Linked DNA regions of Homo sapiens: all the other regions are linked to region 3. The links are contacts of gene promoters, found by promoter capture Hi-C in blood cells and fetal thymus (Javierre and others, 2016). All regions are on one chromosome and are shown on one strand. The core of a region is centred on a gene start or on the middle of the fragment in contact, and the rest is flanking DNA. Distances in the headings are between cores, read along the strand shown. Region 1 holds the start of NPRL2 (NPR2 like, GATOR1 complex subunit). Region 2 overlaps DOCK3 (dedicator of cytokinesis 3). Region 3 holds the start of CISH (cytokine inducible SH2 containing protein). Region 4 overlaps DOCK3 (dedicator of cytokinesis 3).

Region 1 (4,497 bases), core at 879-3,378, 260 kb before region 3:
GGTGACCTTGTCCCAGGTATGACTGTAGGCCCACTCACAGCAGGTTCTGGATAGCAATGCGCACCAGGTTGAGCTCCACATCTGCCTCTGCTGAAATCTTCTGGATGTGGCGGAACCCATCAATGTAGGGCAGGATCTGGGCAGAGTGGGACAAGGTCAGAAGAAACAGGATGAGGCCAGGGCTGTGGCCAGCCCCAGGTGATGATACCCAGGGAGGGATGGCATACTTGTTGTGTAGTGAGGTCCCACTGTGAGTTGAAGAAATCCTCCTTGTCTTTGGTAAAGACAGGTACATCATACTCCTGGGCCACCGGAGGGTCTGGCCGCTGCTCAATCACCTTCAAGTGGATGGTGTTGGACTCATCTGCAGGGGGCCCCATCCATATCCTCAGTGCCACTTCTTCCAAGAGGTCCTCAATTACCATCCAGGCCTCCCAGCATCCCTTGGGGCAAGCAGGTGCCTCTGGGTAGGGCTAATCTTTCTCTTTTTATGGAGTGAGAAACGGAGGCCCACAAAGGGGAAGGAATTGCCCAAGGGGCAGAGCTGGAGAGCTCTGCTTTCCCCCTACCCCCAGTCCCAGCTCCATCATGCATTGGACCCTGGACATGGGCACCTCAGCCCATGGCTATTTCCTGCCCACCAATGTGTTCATGAGTCTTGCCCTTCTCCCTGACTAGCTGGGTTCACTTTCCCATCTCTCCTCTACCCCTCTGCTGTCCTTGCAGAGGCTGGCCATACCAATGGGCAGAGTGCACCGGCCTGAGGCATTTAGCTCCTCCAGCAAGATGGTCATGATGGGCACCAACTTCTGCTTGCTCTCCTCCATGGACACGAAGCTGCTCTCTAGCTAGACAGAGCATGGAAAGCATGGTGGGCACATCCCAGGACCCCTGGCTGGTTGGCTGCCCTGAGTCCTGAGCTGGTTTGCAGGGTCCCAGGTTTGGGGGACTTTGGAGACATGGGAACACCTTCCCCAACTCTGCCTGTCGGTAAACCCAAGCCCATCTCATTGCAGACCTCTAGTGTGGTCAGATAGCCAGCCAGCTTTTTAACAATGGGCTCGAGGGCGCAGGTCTTGGCCTGGGCATCACACACGAAGCCCAGGTTGAAGAGGAGAGCATTGCGGCTGTACTTCTTGTGTTCGATGCACACAGGACAGCCGATCAGCTTCTTTTCCATAGCTGTGCTGGATAATTGGAACACAGTCAGGCCCCCAAGCCTGTCCCTTCCTCCTCCTGGGACAACCCCTGCCACCCACCGCTCACCCCGAGCTAGGGTCTCACACAGTGATAAGCTTGTTCTGCAGCTCTGGCTTGGTGATGATGTACACTTGGACTGTGTCAAACAGCTCTCGGGAGATGAAGTCTTCAGGGACCTGGGGAGGGGAGTGGCAATGGGCCCCTCAGTGGACATCTGTACTGGGTGTAGTACAAATGGTGACCTCCTCATGCCCCCCAAGCCCAAGTCCTCTTCTCCAGCGTTCCCCTCTCTCCCATCCACTCAGGCCTATTACTTCTTTCTGTTTCCAAACATACGCTATGATCTCACCTCCTTCCTGGCTTCTGCATATGCTGTTCCCTCTACCTGGAACACTTTCTCCTGCCTTACCTAAACTTCCTATGCATCATTTACTCTTCACTCAGTTCAGGGATACTCATGGGTCACCCAACTCACCTTCTGTGGGACCTGGAACCCCCCAACCGGATCCCTACAGCCCGATATCCTACAAACACTGCCAATGTGACGTATGTCTTCCCTGCCACATTGGGAGCCGGGGGCCTGGGTCTGACTATCCTCTAGCCTCACAGTTGTCTGCGAATGAAGCAGCATGCCTGCGTGCAGCACGGGAAACTACTGCCTTCAGGCAGCCAGTTGAGCTCTCGAGAACGTCCCTCTTCCCGCCCAGTCCCGCGAGCCCGGGTGGCACCTGATAGGTGATCTTGGGTCCCAGCGTGGGGTGGAACTCGCTGAAGAATATGCATTCGATGCGGCAGCCGCTGCCCATGGCAATAACCGGGCCCAGGCCCGTAGCTCCTCGTTCCTCGCGCAGAGGCGTCCCCACCTCCTGTGAACACTTGTCAGAGACAGCCTCGAGGCCTGTGTCGCTGGGGCACGCAAGCTTGCCAATCCCTCTGCCCAATGGCGCCTGCGCAGCGCGACTCAGAGGCGTGGCTGGGGCGGGGGACGGCTCGTCCCAGGAAGTCCTGGGTGGGTAGACGTCGCACCCGGAAGTAAAGCGGCTCCGTGACGGAGCGGCGGTGCGCGCGGCAGGGCCCGGAGTATCCCGCTTTCTTTGGAGGAAACCACCGCATCAGATCTGCGCTGCGGCAGAGGCAGGCAAGTCCCTAGCGTGGAGGGGCAGCATGCTGGCAGCACTTGGGGAGGCGGTGCGCTAAGGGATTCACGCTGTAACTGGGACCGCAGCAGGGAACTACAATTTCCATAGTGCTCCGCGCCCTCCCAGCTGGCTCTACTGCCGGCGACGGCGTGGTACACGCTGGGATTTGTAGTCTTACATGGCTTTGCGCCTCCTACCTGGAAGGCGGGCCAGCGATTGGTACCAGTTCAGACATGGGTACACGTTGACAGGCCGCCGGCCGTCGACTGGCATGTTGTGACCATTCCTGGTGCTGGTCTTGGTACTGTTCTTTCCTACCATAACTTATTGGAAGAGGGTGGCATTCCTGCCTTGCAGCCTTTTCTCCAGTGAGGAGTGAACAGTGGGCACCTGAGATCCTGGCCCACGCTACTATGCTTTCAGGCTACAACCACTAGCACGGCTGACGATGGCCCTTTCTGCGGAGACCGAGTCACACATCTACCGAGCTCTGCGTACTGCTTCTGGCGCTGCCGCCCACCTTGTGGCCCTGGGCTTTACCATCTTTGTGGCTGTGCTTGCCAGGCCTGGCTCCAGTAAGTAGAATTCATAGCTGACTTCTGGGAAGGGAAGGGCCACTGTTCCTGGGGAGGAAGGGCAGTGGGACTTCCGGGAACAGGCCTGGCTGGTTGAGGGAATTCTGTGCTGGAGCGATGAGTGAGGTGGAGCAGGTAGGTATGGCCAGGGCACACAGAATTCCTGGTTTGTCTTTCCTTCTCTGGGTGCTCCATTTGGCTGCCTCTCAGGAGGTGTAAGGGAAGGAGGGAGGACTGCCAGAGGAGTGGCAAAGCATGGCCTCTGATCCAGGAAGAGGCCAGGAAGAGAGGATAGGTGTGGGGTCAGCTTGTTGCAGAGCAAGAAGGGGCTCACAGTTTGGCAGCACCTCCTTGGGTGATGGGCTGCTGGTATTCCTCAACCCTTAAGGATTGGTATGGCTGGTTTCTTCTTGCCTCAGCCCCATGAGGCCTCCTCTTCTCATTCCAGGCCTGTTCTCCTGGCACCCGGTGCTTATGTCTTTGGCTGTAAGTAGTGGGCCTGGGCAGTTCTTAGGGGTGGGAGCATGGGCATGGTTGGTGGCCCTGGCAGCCTCTGAATCTTTGTCCACATTTAATATCTGTTTGGAAGAGTTGCATGCTCCAACTACTCCTGCCCATGGTATATATTTCAGACTTGAGGCTGGGCACGGTGGCTCATGCCTGTAATCCCAGCACTTAGAGGCCGAGGCGGGCACATCACCTGAGGTCAGGAGATCGAGACCATCTTGGCCAACATGGTGAAACCCCGTCTCTACTAAAAATACAAAAAATTAGCCGGGCATGGTGGCACGCGCCTGTAGTCCCAGCTACTCGGGAGGCTGAGGCAGGAGAATCGCATGAACCCAGGAGACGGAGGTTGCAGTGAGCCAAGATTGCGCCACTGCACTCTAACCTCTAACCTAGGCGACAGAGCGAGGCTCTGTCCCAAAAAAAAAAAAAAACCCAAAAACAAAAAAACCCCCCAAAAAACCAAAAATTAGCTGGGTGTGGTGGCAGGTGCCTGTAATCCCAGTTACTCAGGAGCCTGAGGCAGGAGAATTGCTTGAACCCGGAAGGCGGAGATTGCAGTGAGCCGAGATCAGGCCACTGCACTCCAGCCTGGGTGACAGAGAGAGACTATCTCCAAAAAAAAAAAAAAAAAAAAAAAGAGACTTGAATCAGAGTAATGAAGACCCAGGACCCAGGTCAAATGGGTAAGATTTGTCTAAGCACAATGAGGCTTCACCCACCTCTAGGCAGAAAGCTGAGACATTGCATTTGGATGTACCTCTGTCCCTTTTTACTTTAATTTCTGGTGATGCACCTAACTTTCCCTGAAACAGTGCACCCATGTGGCCAGCTCTTGCCAAGAAATTGTATCCAGCCCCACGTTAGGGAAACAAAGCTTGTGAATCATTTATAACTGCCACATCTCAAACCCTGTGTTTGCTTGGTAACATACGACAGATGACATTTCAGACTGGCACCTAGGAGGAAGTGTGGAGATTATTCAGGGCACATATATCATCCCAGATGGGGTTTTCCACTCTTGCCCCACCAAATGGATAGTCTTGTCAGTGGGGAGAGAAAGAAAAAGGGGAATC
Region 2 (4,755 bases), core at 1,636-4,135, 490 kb after region 3:
CTGTCTAACCAGCCCCAATGAGATGAGCTGGGTACCTCAATTGGAAATGCAGAAATCATCTGCCTTCTGCGTTGATCTCGCTGGGAGCTGCAGACCAGATCTGTTCCTATTTGACCATCTTGCCAGCCACCGATCGGAGTTTTGCTCTTTTGCCCAGACTGGAGTGCAGTGATGCGATCTCAGCTCACTGTAACATCCGCCTTCCGGTTTCAAGCTGTTCTCCTGCCTCAGCCTCCCGAGCAGCTGGGATTACAGGTGCCCACCACCATGCCCATCTAATTTTTGTATTTTTATTAGAAATGGGGTTTCACCATGTTTGCCAGGCTAATCTTGAACTCCTGACCTCGTGATCTGCCTGCCTTGGCCTCCCAAAATGTTGGGATTACAGGTGTGAGCCACTGTGCCTGGCCCAAAGTCCCATTCTTACTCTCTTGGAGTTTTTTCAGCATTCAGGATACCTTGCATAAACTAAACTTTTTCTTGAAAATCAGTTGCTTCTATAATTGAAATAGAGGGCTCTCCCTGAGAGTCAAGCATTCTACCCAAATGAGATAATCTGCCTCTGTGAAAATCTTAGGGGACCCTGGAGATAAATTTTATTTTAAAATGATGGGCGAGCACTTTTTTATTAAAGCAAACAATTTTGTTTCCCTCTGCAAAAGAGGTTATGTATGTAATGCAGCTAGAGCTTATCTGCAGGATTTAGGCAGTCCACTAATAGACCTGCAATTTAGTCTTGGTCCTTCGACCCTAGGCCCCATCGTATAGTCTAGCCTGTCTTAACTTGGTCCAGGACATAGACTCCAGCTCACTAACCAACATTTTCGCAAAGATTTTCTGTGAGTTCCAGCAGAAATAAGAGAGGAGCTGGTACCTTGTCTCTGGTAACTGTTAACATCACTTTCTTTTTCTACCCTGCTCTCTGGTCTGTCATTGTCAGTATACTTAAATTCCCTAAAAATTACGAGGGGCTAGAGAAATTAATAGTATTCTCTCTTTTTCTTTCTCTTTCTCACACATCCACAAAGAAAGCTAATGATTTCTGTGCCCTATGGATGAGGAGGCCAACAAATGGATGTTTAAGTGAAACTTTATAATCCTGTTGCCCTGCTAAGTTTTTCATCAGTATATTTTGTTGCATAACTCAAAACTGAAAATATAGACAGAATGAATTCAAATAGGGTTTAAAGCTAAATATATTTCATACTAGTGGTCAGACTGTCTTGACATGCTTCTACATATATGCCCAACACATCAGCTCTTACTCGGAAGCATTAAAGTGAAAGTCTTTTGAGAGATAGACACAGTGAAACTTTTACTTTAGATATATACTTTGGCCTGTGGTTAAACCTGCCTTTTTCATCTGAAAATAAGATCAGAAACTGCTGTTCTGTATATGCCATCCTTCATTATGTTCTGAGTCTAACTGTTAGGCTGTGGAAAATTTTTAATGTATCATCCTACAGAGTCTGGATAACAACAGTGAAAGAAAAGATCAGGTTCTTTAGAAAGTTTCACATTGTTTACAAGAAATTTGACTTCTTCTCTGCCTAAAAATACGTAGGACAAAGTAGAGCAGAATGACTGATGCGTCTCACATATCAAAAAAATCCTCTGTGAGGAGAGGAATGTGGAGAATTAAGTGAGATCAGAGGTAGAAGTTACAGTGTTTGGTAAAGTCATTTATTTATGCACCAAATGTTTATTTTTACACCTGCTATGTGCTTGTGCTGTTATAGGCTCTAGTAATATGGCAGTGGATAAAACACACAAAAATCCATGTTCTCATGAAGCTTACATAGTAGGGACAGACAGTAAATAGAAATAAGTAAATTGTATCATATTTGAAGGGATAAGTGTTATGGAATAGAAAAAGTAAAGCATAAGGGAGATTTGCTGTGCTAAATAAGATTGTCAGGGTAGGCCTTACTGAGAAGGTACACCTACTGTGGGGCTACCTTCCAGGGAAGAGACTTAATTTGTCCCATCCTCTCATCCTTTGATCTCTAAATGATTTCTAAATTAATGAGGTGGAGCCAAGGGATCAAATTACTGGCAGCCATGTCACCCTTATTTACTTAAGGATAAATAAAAAAAACTAGATAAAGAAAGAAAGAAAGCCTTTACAGTGACCAGATGACAGACGATGGTGGCTTGGATTCTGGCTATCTTCTAAAGGTAAAGCTGTGCTTATTTTGTTTCTGGTATGGTGGAGTAAGCCCCTGACAGTCTGGCCCTCCTACAGTTAACACTGAGCAAAATCCAAAAACTACCTGACGGTGCTGCCAAATGAATAAAGCAGGCAGATATTGTAAGGCAGTAAAAAGTTGGAGAAAAAGATCAACATGAGGTGAATTTTCTGTTTTTTGTGGTTTTGATCTGAAAGTGAGCTGTAGTCCTAGCATAGTATAGAGTGTCTGAAACTCCATTAGAAAGCCTGCCATATTTTTAGCCTGAGGAACCAAGAGATGGAACCTGGGGCAAGTATGGCCACCAGAGGGAGTTCTGGAGAGAAGAGAGCAGGAAATGGGAATCTCAAATTCTATGTATGAGCTCTACCCATGTCACTGGCTCACCTCTGAACCATGCGTATCCAAGGCAGACGCAAAGCAGCTAGCAACAAAGGCTAAAAGAAAACTGTGATTTGACCCACCACAGGAGAAATGGAGATTATAGATTAAGTCTAATCAAGTTAATTCACCATTAAAACAAAAATACTAATTCTCTTCAGAATATAGCAGAATTCAGATTCTCTACAATGTAACATTTACAAGGTCCAGGATAAAATCCAAAGTTATGGGATAACCAGAAAAATTAGTTACTTCAACAAAGCAATAGCTAAATTTAATTTATCTTTTTTTTTTTTTTGAGATAGGATCTTGCCCTGTTGCTCAGGCTGGAGTACAATGGCACAATCATGGCTCACTGCAGCCTCAGTTTCCTGGGCTCAAGTGATTCTCCTGCCTCAGCCTGCTGAATAGCTTGGACTACAGGTGCACGCCACCACGCCTGGCTAATTAAAAAAAAATTTTTTTTTTTTTGTAGAGATGACATCTTGCTATGTTGCCCAGACTGATCTCGAACTCTTGGCCTCAAGCGATTCTCCCACCTCTGCCTCCCAAAATGCTGGGATTATGGGCATGAGCTACCATGCTCGGCTTAGTCTTTCTTTTTTTTTTTTTTTTTTGAGACGGAGTCTCACTCTGTCGCCCAGGCCGGACTGCGGACTGCAGTGGCGCAATCTCGGCTCACTGCAAGCTCCGCTTCCCGGGTTCACGCCATTCTCCTGCCTCAGCCTCCCGAGTAGCTGGGACTACAGGCGCCCGCCACCGCGCCCGGCTAATTTTTTGTATTTTTAGTAGAGACAGGGTTTCACCTTGTTAGCCAGGATGGTCTCGATCTCCTGACCTCATGATCCACCTGCCTCGGCCTCCCAAAGTTCTGGGATTACAGGCGTGAGCCACCGCGCCCGGCCTCGGCTTAGTCTTTCTTAGAAAATTGCAAGGCGGTAGAGATCATCAGGATGCTGAAAAGGAAAATAGATAACTTGTGGTAGAATGATACTCCATTGTGAACAAAGTGGTGGTAAACTTTTGAAGATGTTTTTCAACTTACAGTGAAAACTAGAAAATAGCCATAATATGTACACACTAATTCCTCCCTCTGTTCCTTTTCCTTAGAATATTACTAATGTAAGCAAAAATGTTACAGAGCCTGCTATGAGCTGGTAACATTTATCAAATGAACAAATGACTTATTATAAACTCTCAAGATGGAGTTCCAGCATTAAATCTATAGTTGCAAAAAAGGCTTCGTGTAGAATCCAGCTGAATTCAGATTAAGGCATTCTAGGCTTTCTCCCATTTCTACTCCTGCCTCAAAGCCAGGCTCACAGAAAGCATGATTTAAACAGACAGTCACTTCCCCTCTGATCCCAGCATCCACTTGGCTAAATCTCACATTTGCAAAGTACCACTAAAGCTTTTCCAGAGTTGGGGATAAAGGAAAATATGAAGGAATCAAAGAAAATACAAGCTTGAAGTTTGTTACCTTTCTTGAACTTCTTTTAAAAAGTTTTGTTGTCATTAAAATATATTTAGCTGGGGAAATTTTAACTAATTTGTGTTTATCTGAAAACGTGGTACTTGGAGAAACAGCTCAACTGTAAGGCCTGTGGCTGGTGTCTTTGGAGTTACAATCATTGAGGGTCTCTGGACACAGACTTCTAGTGACCGGAGGTGTTTCTGTCAGAGCCAGAGCATTTATTCATAAACTGAGGATTATTTTCTCTACTTTTACATTTACAAAGCAATGTAAAATATCTGCCTGGCTGTAGATCAGGATTTATTAAAGATCATCTCAAGACAGAGCAAGATTTTAAAAACTGGATATTTTAATCTTCACATGGAAGTGAAGAACACAAGGTACTGGATTCTGTCAGCAAATCAATCAGTATGTCAGGATTTGTATTTTGAGGAATGTGCTAAATGGTGTTTAAAAACAAAGTCTGGATCAGTATATCAGGGTTTATATTTTGAGGAATGTGCTAAATGATGTTTAAAAACAAAGTCTGGAGACTCATGAGAGAGAATGGAAAATTGAGTGACATATATGTATACTTGCTGTCCATGGAGTAAGCTGTGTGGCTGTTGTTAGGGTAACTAGAAATCAGCTACAAAAGAACAGAAGAAATAGTGTTGTAGAAATAGCACAAACAAAAGGAAGCCCTGAGACGAGATGGCTCCTTTGCAGTGC
Region 3 (4,439 bases), core at 195-2,694:
GAATAGCTGTGTTGATCACCACAAGCTCCTGGTGAGTGTGTACCTGGGCAGGGGTGTGTCCATGGCTGTGTCATCATCATGGTGGGGACAGTGGCTGGTGTGTTCTAGGTACATGTGTGTGCCCGCTTTGGAGCGCAGCAGTCTAAAACTTTGTTCCCTGACACCCAACAGTAGCCCTGAGCTTACAAGGGGGTGCTCACCTAGGGTAAAAAGTGAAAGAGGCTATGGGACCCCGGAATGCAGGGGGAGGCTCCTGGGGTGGAAGGCAGTGGTGGGGCAGGTATTCAGGAGTCCCAGAATGCAGACAGGAGGAAGGAACTTGCTGGAGACAGCAAGGGAGAAGTAGTCTTCCCAGCACCTCCATGTCCTCTTCCTTGGCCTCACCTTCCACCCTCCCTCACTTGGCACCAGGCCAGTTGCGATAAGCACAGCCACCCAGTCCTCCCTGAGTGCAGAACACCCATTTATACCTTCTTCCTCTCTCCTTGGAGCTTCCTGAGCTCCTGTCACATCACCATGGCCAGCATCAGACCCTTTGGTTGAAGGGGTTGCTGAGGTTCAGGACAGAGTGGATGGCCAGGAATGCTCAGCTCAGGTCAAGACTCTGTCTTATCAGCATCCCCTCTCCACTGTCCCTTACCTCAAGTCTGGGAAATTTGAAGATGAGAGGCAGGAGCCAAGGTCCTTCTCACATTGGGATCCCAGACTGGGCTGAGACAGGGTTGTGAGACGATTGTGGGGGTACCCCAAGCAGGACCAGGCCAAACCCAGGGCCTCCCGAGAGTTGCAGACCATCAGGTGCCAGCCTGAGGAAAGGCAAGGATCTGCGGCTGGCTTCCCAAGAAGAGCCTACTTGCTAGCCTGGGGCAGGAGAGGGGACACCAGGACAGAGGGGGCCAGGGGCTGGTCCAAGGTTACTAGCAGGCAGGGCAGCAGGCAGGCTAGCGTAGAGTGCTCTGGGCCCAGAAGAATATCTGGGATTGTTGGCCACATCTTGGGGGACGCCGTGCCGTTAGCATCCATCTGCTCCAATGAGAACCCAGGCTGAGCCCACCCTGTGAGTTCCTCCTTTAGCCGGCCAGCCCCCGGTTTCCCAATCCACAGTGGGAATTGAGGTAAGTGTGTGGGGGCGGGGAGTGGGAGTGTCACAGCCCCACACAGAGCCTTGCTCCTGAGGTCCGTCTGCGCTCAGTCACCTCTGGCCCGTCAAGCCCTCCCAATGCCCGGCAGCTAGCACGAAGCCCCTGTTCTCCCGTGCGCCCCTCGTGGTGGCCGGGAAGGGGGCAGAGAGCCGCGCTTACCCCTGAACGCAGAGGACCATGTCCCCGCGGCAGCGGCGACTCCGGAGTGGGGACTCGGCTGGACGGCGGCGGCTGGAGGGAACCAGTGGGCGCGGAGCGCGTGCTGGGTAGGCTCCCGGGGCGCGCGGGCGCAGGACAGGGACTGAGAGGCAGTGGCGCGGACCGCCTGCGAGGGCGAGGGGGGCGGGCCAGACGAGCGGGGCGGGGCGAGCTGCTGCCTAATCCTTTGTCTGCCGCGTTCCAGCCCTTCCCGGAAGCAGCGTCTTCCTAGAACCGCGGGCTGAGCGGTGGGGCCCGGGCGGGGTGCGCGGGCCCCGTCGCCGGGTCTGGGGCCCTGAGCAGTGAAAGGAAATACTTTGACAGATTTCCAAGAACTTTCCAGGAAAACGGGGCGGGGCCCCGCGAGCTGACCAATCGCGACGCTGAAGGTGGAGCCGAGCGGTCGGGGAGGGCCAATAGCAGCGCGTGGACCCGGGGCTGAAGCTACCCAGAGGGGCAGGTCGGAGAGATCAGTGGGGAAAGACCGGGTCGGGGAAGTTAAGGAGGGGCCCGGGCTCAGCAACCCGCGCCCAGATTGCCTTCTGGCATTCTGCGTCGTTGGGGAAGGGCCCTCTTATCTCGCGGTGGAACTCGTGGCAGGGCGGGGGGCGGAGTCCCGGGCTTGTCCTCCCTGCGAGCGGCTCCTCCAAGGAGGTCTGTCGGCGTGTGCAAGCGCCCCGTGTTGGGACGGCCGCTCCTGGACCCTAGGACTCTGTGTGTCGGGTGTCGGATTGGGTGGCATGGGGTGAGATCTGGAGCGGGACTTAGGGCAGGGCGGGGTGCAGAGGACAGTTCCAGAAATGAGTGGGTCCACTGAGGTCAAGCCGGCGGTCACCACAGCCAGAAAGATCCAGACAAGAACGTTTTCTTTGAAAGAGTTGAAGGAGAAAGCACGCCCCAACTTTTCGAATCAGGCAGACCATCCAGTCTTGGCTGGCACTGGTTTCTGGCCGGCCCTGCCAGTCAGGGGAGAAGAGACTACAGATTTGAGAAAGCAAGCAGAGACAGCCCCAGATGGCCCGGACTCTGGGTTGGTACCACCCCCACCCCCCGCCAGAAAAAAAATGCTGAGAGAGAGTCCTGCAACTCAAAACATAGGGAGATAATCTGGGAGTAGGGTGATAGAGGTTGGGGCGGGATGGCGGGGGCAGAGTAGTAACACTCGCTCTTATCTACAGGGAGTACTTGCTGCATTTGATCCTCTACAACTGGTGTTGCTCCCGTTATGCGGACAGAAGACAGCCCCAGGGAACAAATGCTAGGAAATGGCAGGGTAAGAGCTTGGTCCCAGCTCTGAATCAGAAGCCCACGCTCCTACCAGGACCCTCTCCACCTTTTTTCAGTTCACTGGATTCACTATGGAGCATCTTGAAGGACTGTAGGGTCTGTGAATCTCCTCCAAACCCTTGGGCCAGAAGAACTGTGGGATTTGGAGAGGTTGCAGGGTCCACTCCCCACCCCCATCCCCCTCCCAGTGTGTGCCCCCAGGGTCCCCAGAAAGGAGTCTAGCTCTGAGATCCTGGGCAGGGATGACAGACCCCTGGCCTTGTTGAAGGGCCTGAACGATAGCATCCAGGGAAGACAGGGCTCAGTTTGCTCTGCCCAGAATGGCAGAGGGCAAAAGAAACCTGAAAGCAAAACCCTGTGAAACTGGGGAAAAAACGTTAAGTTTCAGATTTCAGGGCAGTCACTTCTCTGTAGCTTTCCTGAAGGGAAGCCGGGCTTCATGAGTGCAACTCTGCCAGCCCCCTCCTGAGTTGGCCAGAAGCCACTTTCTTGGAATGGGGGTAGGGGGGATGGATACCTTATAACCCACTTTGAGGGCTGGGATACCTGGATAGCCTGATATGCGGCCCCTGTGTGGACCACTGACTTGCCAGTAGGAACTGTCCACTGTCTCATTACTATGAAGACAAAAGGACTTTGCCGCTGCCAGGCAACAGAGTTACAATTTTGAACTTGGGTCTCTTATGGGGCCAAATCCCAAGCTCTCTACCAAAACTATACTTCTTCCCCCTCACCATGACTATTCAACTGAACACTTACTATGTGTCAAGCACTCTCAGCAATTTGCAGCCTCATGTCATTGTCACAACTACCACATATTATCTCCTCTTTACAGGTGAGAAAACTGAGGCATGGAGAGGTTACAATATAACTTAGATCTCCCAGCTGGCAAGTAATGGTTTAAGCCAGGAGCCTACACACTTCCTCCTACTTCCTCTATGGGTGCTGGTGATCTGCCGACTCCTAGACATCCAGCTTTAAGGTCCTCAGTGAAGCTTCTCTGCCCCCAGGCCTGTCCATGTCAGAGCACCATGGGTGTCCCTTTGAAAGTATCTCCTACAGGTCAGTGATTATGCAGTCTATGTGTAAACCAAAGGGTTCCAAGGGTTTTGGCCTTCCAACTATTTTTGTGTGTGTGTGAATATGACAGCACTGTGCACCTCACCTGCATGCTGGGAACAGTGATGTGCCCCTGTTCTGCCCCAAGTACTAAGTTGGGTCCCTCTGGCCAACTTAGTACTTAATTCTCCTGCCCTGGCTGCTCCCTAGAAACCCTGGCTCTGATTGCTGGGCCCACACTGCCACCTAGCGGTGCCCCCTCTCATGCCCTCACTAGCCAAATTTCCATAGATTCTTCTCTTCTAGGATAATCCCTCTCCTGCACCCCAGGGATTGAACTTACTGCAAGATTCCCCTGCCACTCCCTACCCAGAACAATCACAAGATGAATCACAAGAATACACAGCAGTGCCTTCCCAAAAGTCTCGCTCATTTGGCCTCCATCCTCTCACCATGTACAGCCTCCCCTCTCCAGTAAGGACAGAGTGTGTGTGTGTGTGTGTGTGTGTGTGTGTGTGTGTGTGTGTAGGATTTAGCCCCCCTCACTTTAAGCTATTCCAAAGTCTCTGTCCCCTTGGACACACAGCTACATGAAGGGCTGTGTGGCAGAGTCTGCCATCATGAACCCACTCCTGACCAGACCTAGCCATCCTGCATGCCAAATCCTCCCATCATTGTGGAGGGGATGCTGCAGGTGGTTGCTGGAACATGAGCACTAAGGGAAACCACATATTCTGACTTTCCTGGGCTAAG
Region 4 (4,916 bases), core at 2,409-4,908, 420 kb after region 3:
ACACCAGTTATTCTTAGGTTTGGCCATTTTATATAATCTCATATTTCTTGGAGACTTTATTCATTTCCTTTTTTTTTTTCTTTATCTTTGTCTGATTGCATTAATTTGAAAGCCTGTCTTTGAGCTCTGAAATTCTTCCTTCTCCTTGTTCGTCTATTGTTGAAACTTTCCACTGCATTTTGTATTTTCCTAAGTTTGTCTTCCATTTCCAGATGTTCTGATTGTTTTTTGTTGTCGTTGTTGTTCTTGTTGTTTTTTGAGACAGAGTCTCGCTCTGTTGTGCCATGGAGTGCAGTGGTGTGATCTCGGCTCACTCCAACCTCTGCCTCATGGGTTTAAGCGATTCTCCTGCATCAGCCTCCTGAGTAGCTGGTACTACAGGTGCACACCACCATGCCCGGCTAATTTTTGCATTTTTAATAGAGACAGGGTTTCATCATGTTGGCCAGGCTAGTCTCAAACTCCTGACCTCAGCTGATCTGCCCGCCTTGGCCTCCCAAAGTGCTGGGATTTGGCATGAGCCATCAGGCCTGGTCTGATTGATTTTTTCTTTATAGTTATCTATCTCCCTGGAAAATTTTTCATGCATATCCTTGACTGTTTTTTTAATTCATTTTTGTTGGTTTTCACCTTTCTCTTGTATTTCCTTGAGTAGCTTGATAATCAACCTTCTGAATTATTTTTGTCTCATTTCAAATATTTTATCTTCATTTGGATTCATATCTGGAGAGCTATTGTGACATTTTGGGGGTTTTATGGAACCCTGTTTTGTCATATTACCAGAATTACATTTCTGGATTTATTTCTAATTTGGATAGCCTATTTTTTCAAATTGTTACTGAATTTATTTTTTACTAGACTGTGTTTTCTTAATGGTTTTTTTTACTTTAAGGGTCTGACTTCAATGTTTGTAGTAAATTATTTTAGCCTAATTTGATTCTTGGGGCTTGGTTAAGACTCTGTATGAGTTCCTTTGTTATAGAAAGTCTTTGTGCAATGGCTTTCCCATATGATGGTTGTAATAGTTATTATGTACTTGGTGTGTAGGCCAGTTCACTGTCTCCTATTGGGTTGGAATGGCAGGGATTCCTTAAAGCTTATCTCATTCTCTCATGGTGTATGGTTTATTTATTTATTCAATTTTTTCCCCAGTATTTTATTAACTGAGTTGATGATTCAGGCTTTAGGCCAGTTGTGGATGTATCCCTGGGTAGTCACTGGTTGTAGCTAAAGCAAGTTGGTAGATGTAATACCCAATGGTGGGCAGAGGTCCCAGCCTTGATGAAGGTAACTGGGGGGTCAGGGGTAGATCTCAATTAGATGTTCTGAGATTTTATCAGGGTGAAGGGTGAGAGCTACCTCAGCTTCCCTGCTAGGCCAGCAGAAAAGCTTTCCACCTCACAGCTTTACTGTTTTCCCAGTGTTCTGGCTGTTCAGATCAGACAGGCACCTCTTCTTTAGGAATATTGATGTTCCATGTAGGGAGGAATTGTGATTCTGCCTTTTGTGCAAGCCTGCATCTGGGCAGTGCTCCTCCTGTGGGGCTGCAGTCATCCTGAATTGTTCCCTGAATTGGGGAATGTCTGCAAGGGATCCAGTGATGTGACATAGACTCTGAGATTCCTTGGTTGTAGATAGGCTTAGTGTGCTGCCTTTCTTGAATGCTGGTAATACTAGTAGTGAACTTGTCACGTGGACAGACTCAGGACCTTTGGTTTGCCAGGGTGTTGCAGGCAGTGATGATTGCCGAGGTCATGCAGCTGTTTTCTCCTTCTTGGGCACAGTGTTATTCTATCTAGAGATGGTGTCAAGATCTGTGTTGGTTGGCCTCCAGCCAGGAGGTGTTGCTTTCAAAAGAGCACCAGCTGCCGTAATAACAGTGGGATTTGAGCTTGCCCTAAGTTGCCTAGGGGAAGTATTCTGGTTTCTTAGGTGATGGGTGGGGCTACAAGTCTCCTAAAAGTTTATGTCTTTTGTATTAAGTTACCAGGGCAGGTGGAGAAATACCACCAGGTTGGGTCAGGGTTAGGTGGGCCTGAGCTCTGATTCTCCTTGTGCAGGGCAGGCTAAGGCCCCTGTGAGAGACCAAGGTGGTTCTCAGGTCGCTGGGGTAATGTTTCACAGGGGAGTATAACTGCCTCTGCTGCACAGAGGAGTTTACAAAAGGAGTGGGGAGTAGTGGGCAGCAGTGAGCCTTACCTAGTTCCCACATCGTTTTCAAGGTCGGTGTCACTCCTGCGGTGCTCTGGTGACAGCACCTGGTTTAGATCTAGGCAGTCTGCACACAGAATTCAGACCTGCCCCAGCCTATAAGCTTCCCCACAGAGATAGCAACCACAGCTTTCAGGCCGCACCCCTCCCCGTCTTTCTGCAAAGTCACGTGCCCAGCTTCTGCACTCCTGTCTGCAGCTCACTTCCTGCTCATTCCCCAGGTTCTGTTCATGGGGTGTTTGTCCTCTCTTGAGATTATATCACAAAATTCAGTTGGGAGCTGCATTTACCCTGTGAATTCTCCCTCGTTGACCGACTTCCCCAAGGGCTCCTGTGAGATATAGTCAGGAATCACTTCCCTTGGTTCACACTGGAGACTGGGAATGCCTGCAAGCCCCTTCCCACTGTTGCTTCTACTTTTATATTTTATGCCACTTTCTAAATTTGATCCAGCTCTTGGTAGAGTTTAAGGTCTTCTTCCATGGCCTGAATTTTCAGATTCCCCAGTGAGGATGTACTCAGAGGCAGACTCTCCCCTTCTCACACTCTGAGAACTTAGTTTTTCACCTGTCTCATGGAGTAGGCTGCAGCCTGCCATTTGTTTCAAAGGGTCTGTAGATTCTTTTGATTTTTCTATTAAGTTCCTGTGTTGGTTCTTGCTTTAAAAAAAAAAATTCACAGTGTGAATCTCTACACACTATTCTGACCTTCCAAGTGGGAGAGGCAAGCTAACACTGCCTCCAATCTGCCATTTTGAAAAAAATAAAAAATGAAAAAATGAGGGTTTGTATTATGAAGTGACGTTGGATTTTATTGAATGGTTTTTCTGAGTCTATTGAGATGGTCATATGTTTTTTTTTGTTTTTAGTTCCATTGATGTGGTGAATCACATTTATTGACTTGTATATGTTTACCATCCTTGCATCTCAGGAATAAAGCCCATTTGATCATGATGAATTATCTTTTGATCTGCAGCTGAATTTGGTTTGCTAGTATTTTGTTGAGAAGTTTTGCATCTATGTTTATCAGGGATATTGGCCTGTAGTTTTTTTTTTTTTTTTATTGTGTCCTTGTCAGCTTTGGGTATCAAGATGATACTGGTTTCATAGAATGAGTTGGGGAGGCATTCCTTCTCCTCAATTTTCTTGAAGTAGTTTCAGTATGATTGGTACCAGCTCTTTTTTTGTGTATCTGGTAGGATTCAACTGTGAATCCATCTGGTCTAAGGCTTTTGTTGGTTGCTAGGCTTTTTATCACTGATTCAGTTTCATAACTTATTATTGATTTGTTCATGGTTTCAATTTCTTCCTGGTTCAGTCTTGGGATGCTGTGTGTTTACAGGAATTTATCCATTTCCTCTAGATTTTCTAGTTTGTGCACATAGAGATTTTTGCAGTTATCTCTGGGAATCTTTTGTATTTATGTGGCATCAGTTTTATTATTTTGGATTGTGCTTATTTGGATTTTCTCTTTTTTCTTTGTTAATCTAGCTAGCAGTCTATCAATCTTTTTTTTTCAAAGAACCAAATTTCTTTTTGATCCTTTGTATGGTTTTGTTGGTTGCTATTTTGTTCAGTTCTCTGATTTTAGGTATTTCTTTTCTTCTGCTAGATTTTTATTTAGTTATTATATTTCTAGTTCTTTTAGCTGTGGCACTAGGTTGTTAATTTGAGATCTTTCTATCTTCTTGATGTAGGCATTTAGGAGTATAAACTCCATTTAGCACTGTTTTTGCTGCATCTGAGAGGTTTTGGTGTGTTGTGTTTCTATTTGTTTGAAATAATTTTTTTTTGTTTCTGCCTAATTTTGTTTTTTACGCAAAAGTTGTCCAGAAGCAACTCATTTAGTTCCCATGTATTTGTGTGGTTTTGAGAGTTCCTCTTGGTATCGATTTCTAATTTTATTCAACTGTGGTCCAAGAAGATGCTTAGTATGCCTTTGATTTTTTTTTTCAATTTATAGAGACTAGCTTTTTGGCTGAGCATGTGGTCAATCTTAGAGTATGTTCTATGTATAGATGAGCAAACTGTATTCTGTGGATTTTAGGTGGGGTATTCTGTAGATGTCTATTGGTTAAGTATCCAATTTAAGTCCAGAATTTCTTTGTTAGTTTTTTGCCTTGATGATTATCTAATTCTGTCAATGGGGTTTTGAAGTCTCCCACTATTATTGTGTGGCTGTGTGGCTGTTTTCTTAGGTCTAGTTGTAATTGTTTTATAAATCTGGGTGCTTTGTTGTTGGGTGCATATATATTTAGGATAGTTAACTCTTCTTGATGAATTTAACCCTTTATCATTATGTAATGCCCTTCTTTGTCCTTTTTATTGTCTTTGGTTTAACATCTGTTGTATCTGATATAGGAATAGCACCCCCTTCCCCTTTTTTTATTTTTCATTTGCATGATCTTTATCTCTTTACATTGAGCCTATGGGTGTCATTACATGAGACATGAGTCTCTTGAATGCAGTAGAAAGTTGGATCTCATTTTTTTTTTCATCCAATTTGCCACTCTGTATCTTTTAAGTGGAGCATTTAGGCTGTGTAGGTTCAACTTTGATATTGATATATGAGATTTTGTTTCTGTCATAGTGTTGTTAGCTAGTTACTTTGTAGGCTGGAATGGTAGTTGCTGTATAGGGTCTGTGGGTTTTGTACCTTTTTGTGCTTTTGTGTAGCAAGTATTGTTCTTTATTTTCATGTTTAGA

What was found. The method cuts DNA at HindIII sites, captures the fragments that hold promoters and counts their contacts. A CHiCAGO score of 5 or more calls a contact.
Region 1: the fragment with the promoter of NPRL2 here is called in contact with the fragment with the promoter of CISH in region 3 in 10 of 17 cell types (erythroblasts, endothelial precursors, megakaryocytes and 7 more); the score reaches 14.5 in erythroblasts.
Region 2: a contact is called between a fragment that was not itself captured here and the fragment with the promoter of CISH in region 3, in 4 of 17 cell types (endothelial precursors, monocytes, M2 macrophages and 1 more). The highest score is 9.2, in endothelial precursors.
Region 4: a fragment that was not itself captured here is called in contact with the fragment with the promoter of CISH in region 3 in 3 of 17 cell types (naive CD4 T cells, activated CD4 T cells and total CD8 T cells); the score reaches 6.2 in naive CD4 T cells.

The regions. Positions count from the first base shown.
Region 1 is chr3:50,348,647-50,353,143 of GRCh38, forward strand. NPRL2 (NPR2 like, GATOR1 complex subunit) reads right to left here and starts at 2,129. Exons shown (of 11, transcript NM_006545.5): 1 at 1,929-2,129; 2 at 1,285-1,376; 3 at 1,019-1,187; 4 at 740-848; 5 at 228-364; 6 at 39-136. The coding sequence starts at 2,006. It overlaps CYB561D2 (cytochrome b561 family member D2), which reads left to right and starts at 2,216. Exons shown (of 4, transcript NM_001291284.2): 1 at 2,216-2,338; 2 at 2,763-2,914; 3 at 3,363-3,400. The coding sequence starts at 2,788. It overlaps LOC127898564 (CYB561D2-LOC101928965), which reads left to right and starts at 2,216. Exons shown (of 5, transcript NR_183066.1): 1 at 2,216-2,338; 2 at 2,763-2,914. RefSeq lists an enhancer at 2,171-2,390. The HindIII fragment of the contact is 2,178 bases long and covers 2,119-4,296 here.
Region 2 is chr3:51,097,945-51,102,699 of GRCh38, forward strand. All of the region lies in intron 9 of DOCK3 (dedicator of cytokinesis 3), which reads left to right. Among named protein-coding and RNA genes, the nearest start is that of MANF, 280 kb to the right of the region's middle. The HindIII fragment of the contact is 2,188 bases long and covers 1,792-3,979 here.
Region 3 is chr3:50,610,330-50,614,768 of GRCh38, forward strand. CISH (cytokine inducible SH2 containing protein) reads right to left here and starts at 1,445. Exons shown (of 3, transcript NM_145071.4): 1 at 1,302-1,445. The coding sequence starts at 1,321. It also overlaps a transcript of MAPKAPK3 not described here. RefSeq lists enhancers at 404-964, 1,874-1,963 and a silencer at 1,314-1,793. The HindIII fragment of the contact is 4,554 bases long and covers 1-3,620 here.
Region 4 is chr3:51,023,178-51,028,093 of GRCh38, forward strand. The region is part of intron 5 of DOCK3 (dedicator of cytokinesis 3); the gene reads left to right. Among named protein-coding and RNA genes, the nearest start is that of MIR4787, 350 kb to the left of the region's middle. The HindIII fragment of the contact is 2,693 bases long and covers 2,313-4,916 here.